Regions from separate parts of the Homo sapiens genome. Here region 2 is linked to region 1. Evidence: promoter capture Hi-C in human tissues and cell types (Jung and others, 2019). All regions are on one chromosome and are shown on one strand. The core of a region is centred on a gene start or on the middle of the fragment in contact, and the rest is flanking DNA. Distances in the headings are between cores, read along the strand shown.

Region 1 (3,737 bases), core at 769-3,268:
ACCCTGTCTCAAAAGAAGAAGAGTAATAGAAGTATCAGTGAAATCAAGCATTCAAAACATATACATTTTTGGAACTCAATATGTAAAGTCAATAAGTGGCTTTTAGGGTAGTGGTTTATCAGTTCATTCATTTATTCAACAAATATTTCTCAGGTGCCTATTATATAATGGCCCTACAGGTTACAGAATACAAATATAATCAATTTTTCTCCTGGAGAGGGGAAAGAGACATACACAGGTGATTACAAAACAAGATGACAAATAATATAAAAGAAATATGCACAGAATTATGAAAGCAGATAACATGAGTTCCCTAGAGCAAGTGATAAGTGCATCTGAAAATAAAAGTAATACTATTGGTGGGCCACGGGCAAAGGACACTCTAGGTAAGAAACAGCACGCATGTAGGAATGGACAGCTTAAAACATTTTGGAAAAGGCAGGTAGCTCAGCGTGGTCGCAGATTAGCATGGCAGGCTGGCAAAAGGTAAGCAAAATGCTAGCTCACAAAGGGAACTGTGTACTGCTAAGAGTTTCGATTTTTAGCCTGTAACCAACGAAGTATAGTTAAAATGTTTTTAAGAATAATGACAGGATCAGATCTGTGCTATGGACAGATTATTTTGGCAGCCCTGTGGAAGCGGGAACGAAACTTGGGGCCTAAGAAATACAGCGTGTGTCTGTGAGTCTCAATTTTCCAGTATAGGAACCACTTTAACAAAACAAAATATCCTATGAAACACTTCATTCAGTTCTCCAGCTCACCACCTTAAACATCATGACTTGAAACTAAAATGAGTGGTAGTTTCCTCTCCTCAACAAACACACATACAATGCTTCACATCAACAAGATAATGTGGAGCTTCTATTAAAATATTCCATTCCTTCCATTAAATTATTAAATACCACTAGCTATAGATATTACCAGACATTCATTTAAAACTCATAAGTACTGTAGCCCAGATTACCTGGAGAATCTTGTCAACTGCCCACGGTCCCTCTATCCTACTTCGATAGCCACTGACATCTCACTGGTAACCGAGACGTAAGTGAAAGTACATCTAATCAGCGAAACTGACAAAGTCAGCCTTGGAAAAACAGTAAATGGAGATGTCGTTCACGAAACGAACAGATACAGAAAGACGAGGCAGTGTCCCTAACGGAGCAGAGCTGTCAACGAGTCTATGTAGTTAGGAGCCCAGGAATGGCCAGTCTTGTAAGAAACGGCCGGTAGACGGAGCGCCTGTGACAACTAGTTGTAGTAGTTTGCGGGCAAGGGAGAAAAAGGACCGAGGTAAAAGAGGGTGTAGGGCACGCTGGGGGTGGATCTACCCGCAGCAAACAGGAGACAATGAGAGAGATCCAGACACAATTCAGAGCGGAGGAGCGGTAGGAGGGTGTGGAGCTGGGAGCGAAGACCCGACTCCCGGGCTGGTGGCGGGAAGTTAGCGGATAAGGAAGAGGCACCCGAAGGATGACTAGAGTTTGGAGCGGCAGTGGAAGCCCAGGGACGTGGGAGGCCGAGGAAACAGCAGATCTCGAGGCGGGGTGCGGGATGCACACCCCGGGGACGCGGAGGGACAGGGAGAGCGAAGGTGTCACCCTTGACTTGCCGGGGCAGCCCTCCCGCACCCAGCCCGGTACTCACAGAGCTCAGAGTACCGATGGCAGCCCCGGCCCAGCTGCTGCAGATAGCGCTGCAGCACGTCCGTGAGGAGGTGGCAGGCGCTGAGCTGCACCGAGTCCCAGCCCAGCGCCTGGCAGATCTGCGCCACCGAGACCCTCAACAACGACCTGGAGTAACTCTCGCACATCCCGCTGCGTGGACGCCACCGCAGCCCTTGCTGCCACTGCTCTCCAGCCCCGCCGCCAGACCTTAGCAGGGTCCCCGATTCATCCTCTAGGGCTTCCGCGGCGGGGAAAGGGTCCCCCGGACCCCCGGCGACCACCTCAAAGCCCCAGCAGCACGGAGCGCGCCAGCCTGAGAGCCGCCATTTTGGACTCGCTCCGCCTCCCGCTGGACGGCCGCCGGGGCGAGGCAGCATAAGCCGAATGCCGAGCGCGGCGATGAGAAAGCTCCGCCCCTTGGGAGCGGAACGATTCCTCGGGATCGCCTCTGAGGCCTGGAAGCCGGCCGGAAGCGGGCGTGGGGCGCGCAGGTGGAGGAGGCGCCCAGGGCGGCAGGTGCTGGGGCGCTCACCTGGGGGACAGCGGTGACGAAAACGCCAGTGTTTTAGAGGCAAACGAGGGATCTGGGATACGACATTGACAGGTTAGAGAGTTAGCACTAATAACGTTAGTCATATTAGAGAGTTATGTGCTAGAGAGAAGTTTGGGGCGTGGGAACTTACGGAGCTCGCCAAACGCAGACCTGCGCTGGTGTTGCCTCAGCTAAAAATCTGTGTATTGAGCTGCTTGCCACTGCAAAGATTAAATAAAGTCCAAGCTGTTCCGCATGCCCTTCAAAGCCCTTCGCAATAGGGCAGGAACTAGGAGGACTCTGTGCCAAATTAATGGGGGCCTCAAAAAACTCAGTCATCAAGATCGATAATATTTTAACAGTTTTTTTAAAAAAATCCAAATCCATGCCATAAACTCCTGACTCACTCATGTCATTCTAATCCCAGCCCTGGTTCCAATAAAACTTTTTTTTTTTTTTTTTTTTTAAAAAAAACAGGTAAGCTGCCTGTGGGCTATAGTGTGCGATTTGAGCATCGCGGCTGTGACCTATCGGGGGATGGGGACCTCGGCTGCCTACAGAGGCCAAACCGAGCCTTAAACCGGTGTCGCAGGCCGAGTGTCCTGGGAACGGTTGCCTACCCCAGAGCCTTCTCCCAGCTCCATCCAAGTATTGCCAGAAATCGGATTTAGGGATAAATATCTTGATTTTTAAATACAGAATTGGGAACACATCTCAAAAGCCAAACTGATCCCACGGTTAGTCTAGATTCAGCCTGCAGGTCGCCCGATTGTAGTGGCTGAACTATGCGGTTTCTTAAATATGCCCTTCTGTACTTATCACAGTGTATTTAGTTTATGTGCTCCTCCAATAAATTGCGAGTTTATGAGTGGCTCTATATTCCTCCGACAGGGACTATTCCAGAACTTTGAACATGATATTCACATTTTTCAAAGTCTGGGAAACTCAATAATAGAACTGAAATTATGGTTCTTCAGCTAAATGACGATCTGCAGAGAAGCAAGGTACTAAAGGGCAAGGTGCCTGCATTTACTCCCTGGACACTCTGTCCCCAAGTTATCAGGAACATTGTGTTGCTAAATCTATGAGACATTTTTCAGTCCTAGCCGTACTTGATTATTTTGTAGCTATTTGATAATGTTGAACGCTTCTGTAACATTGAAACTCTCTTGCGCCTTGGATTTCACAAATCTGTCCCGCTACCGCCGCCACCCTGGGTGTTTGTTCCTCTTCATTTGCCTTTCTGTGTATAGGGGAGGGGATTTTATTTCGGAAAATTTCAAACCTACAGAAAAGTTGAAACAAAATCATAGACTCACGTGTACACTTCAACTAGATTCACCAATTGTTAACATTTTGCCAATTTACTATATATTTTGTATTTATATATGCACGCAGGTATTTTTTTTCCAGCAGTTTGAAAATAAGCTGCAAACTTCATGACACTTAACCCCACCACACCTCGACATGTATCACCCCAAAACAAGAACATTCCCCCACATAACTATACACAAGACCATATGTCACAGGCTTGGTTC
Region 2 (3,737 bases), core at 401-2,900, 1.1 Mb after region 1:
TGAGTTGGCAATTGTCCTCTCCACTGTGGATAGATTGTCCAGTGTTACCTGAGCTCCTAGCGAAGGAAGGTGGGAAACCTGAAGAACTTGGGGAGTGTCCCCGGAATAAGACACATTACTCATTAATGGTGGTGGTGAAGGGCAAAGAGATATTTGGTACCTACACTGTGCTTGGTACCTTGCATAATTGGTAAATCCATACAGTACTTCCAGCTAGGCATTTAAACATCCAATTTATATGTATGGAAATCTGAGGTCTGGGTCATGCTGCTTCTTTCTGCCACTAAACTGTTAAATCATGGCACCAAGATTCAAAACCAAGTCCATCTTACTCCAAACCTGCTCTTTCTCATATGTTTTCTTTAAGAAAAAAGCAGGTCAAATCTCCTTTGCCCATCTGTCTCCTTTTACTCACAAGTTTTAGCAGAGCCAGTGTGTTATAGTTCCCTGTATGCAATTCATTAGAGCCTTCTCCTGCAACTCTTAGTAAAAGAGTTTTATAATAGTGAGTCACCAACGCCCTACCTCCTTCAGCATCTTTACAAGAACCAATGAGAAGAAGCTGGAACTTACTGAAGACACAAGCTCAGAGCAGTTTGTAAAGCTTTGTTAGCTGAGCCAGCCAATGGAAAATCAGCAGCAACAGCCCCAGTTCATCATGGAACACACAAATAGAAGAGATTTCATAAGCCAGTGATCTGATGCTAACAGTATTTGGCTTAATTCTCCTAACACCATTCAAGGTAAAACACACACAGACACACACACACACAGACACACACACACACACACACACACGAATTATTGAAATGACTTGGCCTCTTCAAAAAGTGCCATTTGAAGAAAAGTAGACAATATCTAAAGAAATAACAACCTATACTCTCTTTGAAGACCTGAATAAAAACAAGCTATTTTGGCAGAAGCATTGAAAGTTTTTCTTTCGCGTGCTCAGAAAACAAAATTTGAATCAATTTCTAAACTACAACAGGCTATTTCTTTTTGCTTCTGGGAGTATGCACTGGCCTCACTATTAGCCGCAAACAATGAAAAGACTTGCCTTTGTAAGCCACATAGGTGGCTTAAATACCGATTTTAAGAATTGCTGAAAACCTAGCTTCTTTCAAGAGTACACTGATAATAATTACCATCCTTTTAACATACATTTAATACCATCTTATTTTTCTTTTCTTTTTTTAAAAAATTTTTTAAAAATGTTACTTTAAGTTCTGGGGCATGTGCAAAACATCCAGGTTTGTTACATCGGTATCCGTGTGCCATGGTGGTTAGCTGCACCTATCAACCCGTCACCTAGGTTTTAAGCCCTGCATGCATTAGGTATTTGTCCTAATGCTCTCCCTCCCCTTTCCCCCAACCCCCGAAAGGCCCCAAACACCATCTTATTTTTCTTGTTGGAGAGAGGATGAGAGGGAACAGCTGATGGGAAGAGTAACTGAGTTTCAAATTGCAGTTCTCTGGAAATAAGCCCCACAATATGATGCAAATAACAAGTCACAGATGACAGTATAGCCACTGTTGGAGGGTAGGCTGTCTTTAGGCTAAGCATTCAAGAAGCCCTTCATGTCAAGCAAGCCTCAGCTTGGACAATTTGATACGCTTTTTTTTTCTTTCCTTTTTTTTTTCTTTTTTTTTTGAGATGTAGTCTTAACCTGTTGCCCAGGCTGGAGTGCAGTGGCGCAATCTCAGCTCACTGCAACCTCCACCTCTGGGTTCAAGTGATTCTTGTGCCTCCGCCTCCCAAGTAGCTGGGACTACAGACATGCACCACCATGCCCGGCTAATTTTTGTATTTTTAGTAGAGATGGGGTTTCGCCATGTTGGCCAGGCTGGTCTCAAACTTCCAACCTCTGGTGATCCGCCTGCCTCGGCCTCCTGAAGTGCTGGGATTATAGGTGTGAGCCACTGTGCTTGGCCTTTTTTTTTTTCTTGACAGAGTCTCACTCTGTCACCCAGGCTGGAGTGCAATGTTGCAATCTCAGCTCACTGCAACCTCTGCCACCCAGGTTCCAGAAATTCTCTCACCTCAGCCTCCCGAGTAGCTGGGATTACAGATGTCCACCACCACGCCCAGGTAATTTTTTTGTATTTTTAGTAGAGACAGAGGTTCACCATGTTGGCAAGGCTGAGAGGCTGAGGCGGGAGGATCACCTGAAGTCAGGAGTTGATAAGCTATTTTTTATTGCACCTGTGTATGGCACACTACCATGGCCACCCACTCAGTATACACAAGACTGCAGTGTTTCAAAGACACCGAGCAAATTGAGGTTCCCACAGATCTCCTGAGAGCTGATCAAAATTAAAATTCTCATTTCTGGGCTAGCAGGCTTTCTTTTGTTCCCAGGTAAGTCTTGGAATTTTCTGGAGAACTTCTGACAGGAGAACTTCTTGGCAAATGACCATTTTGTTCAAAAAATAAACTAGAGCTATTTTTTCTTCTATGGCATGCAAGAAACAAGTTGCCATAAAGAGAGCAAGAGCTTACCCTGGTTAAATCAAGGACGTTGGGGAAGGTGTCATCTCTGTGTCAATACCATGGCTTGGGCGTCAGAGACTCGACCAGGGAATTCCGTATATCCATGTTTTGCGGTAAGAACAAACACGAGACTAAAGTGTACATTCTTGTTTCTTCATTTAATAGCTTTTTAAGGTAGGTAAATTAACTGGACAGGTGCCTGAGTTTTTTTACACCAGTTAAAAGAAAATAATAATATCCACCAACAGGGCTGTCCTGAGAACAAATGTGCTGTGTAGACTGTAAAGTCACATTTACAACTAAGGTATTAAAATCCTTCCTCAGGCCGGGTGCAGTGCCTCACACCTGTAATCTTAGCACTTTGGGAGGCCTGGGCAGGCAGATCACCTGTGGTCAGGAGTTCGAGACCAGCCTGGCCAGCATGGTGAAACCCCATCTCTACTAAATATACAAAAATTAGCCAGGCTTGGTGGCATGCACCTGTAATCCCAGCTATTCAGGTAGCTGAGGCATGAGAATCGCTTGAGCCTGGGAGAAGGAGGCTGCAGTGAGACAAGACTGCACTACTGCACTCCAGCCTGGGCAACAGGAGTGAAACCCTGTCTCTCAAAATAAAATAAAATAAAATAAAATCCTTCCTCAAAATAGCTAATGGATGCTAGGCTTAATACCTGGGTGATGGGGTGATCTGTGCAGCCAACCACCATGGCACATTTATCTATGTAACAAACCTGCGCATCCTGCACATGTACCCCGGAACTTCAAATAAAAGTTGAAGGGTGGAAAAAAACCACTTCCTCGTTCTGGTCAAAATAGTGATGGAGAGAGTTAAGGGACCAGGTTCAACACATTCGTCCGGAAAACATCTCGACCCAGAAACTTCCTTTCATTGGCTGGGAGCTGTCCGAGGTGCTCTGGTTGAAGCTTCATGAGTTACTTCAAGACCTCCCTCACAGTAGTGCTGCCATTTAACAGTGTAGGCAAAAGGGCCACAACCTTGGTTTGAGTTATTCAGTCTCTACCCAGGTAATCTTTGGCAAGTTACTTCATGCCTCTAATCCCCTTTTGCTGGTAATTGTTTTACCATTAATGTCTCTGATCCCCATTTGCAGACATGGCTGGTAATACCTACCTTAAAGTACTGCTGAGAGGGAGAAATGAAAAGGCTTGGTATAAACCAAGGATTTGGTAAATATTCTGCCTTCATTATTACAAGAAAGATGAAAAAGAGAGGACAGATCTCCTG

The links. Contacts are between HindIII fragments. The study calls those that stand out against the background at their distance.
Region 2: a fragment that was not itself captured here is called in contact with the fragment with the promoter of TAF3 in region 1 in 1 of the 25 tissues and cell types used here (dorsolateral prefrontal cortex).

Annotation. Positions count from the first base shown.
Region 1 is chr10:7,816,786-7,820,522 of GRCh38, reverse strand. It overlaps TAF3 (TATA-box binding protein associated factor 3), which reads right to left and starts at 2,018. Exons shown (of 7, transcript NM_031923.4): 1 at 1,648-2,018. The coding sequence starts at 1,813. LOC105376392 (a long non-coding RNA gene) reads left to right here and starts at 2,160. Exons shown (of 3, transcript XR_001747356.1): 1 at 2,160-2,271. RefSeq lists enhancers at 1,306-1,823, 1,952-2,011, 1,824-2,342. The HindIII fragment of the contact is 13,699 bases long and covers 1-3,737 here.
Region 2 is chr10:6,713,554-6,717,290 of GRCh38, reverse strand. No RefSeq gene overlaps it. Among named protein-coding and RNA genes, the nearest start is that of LINP1, 22 kb to the left of the region's middle. The HindIII fragment of the contact is 3,958 bases long and covers 1-3,629 here.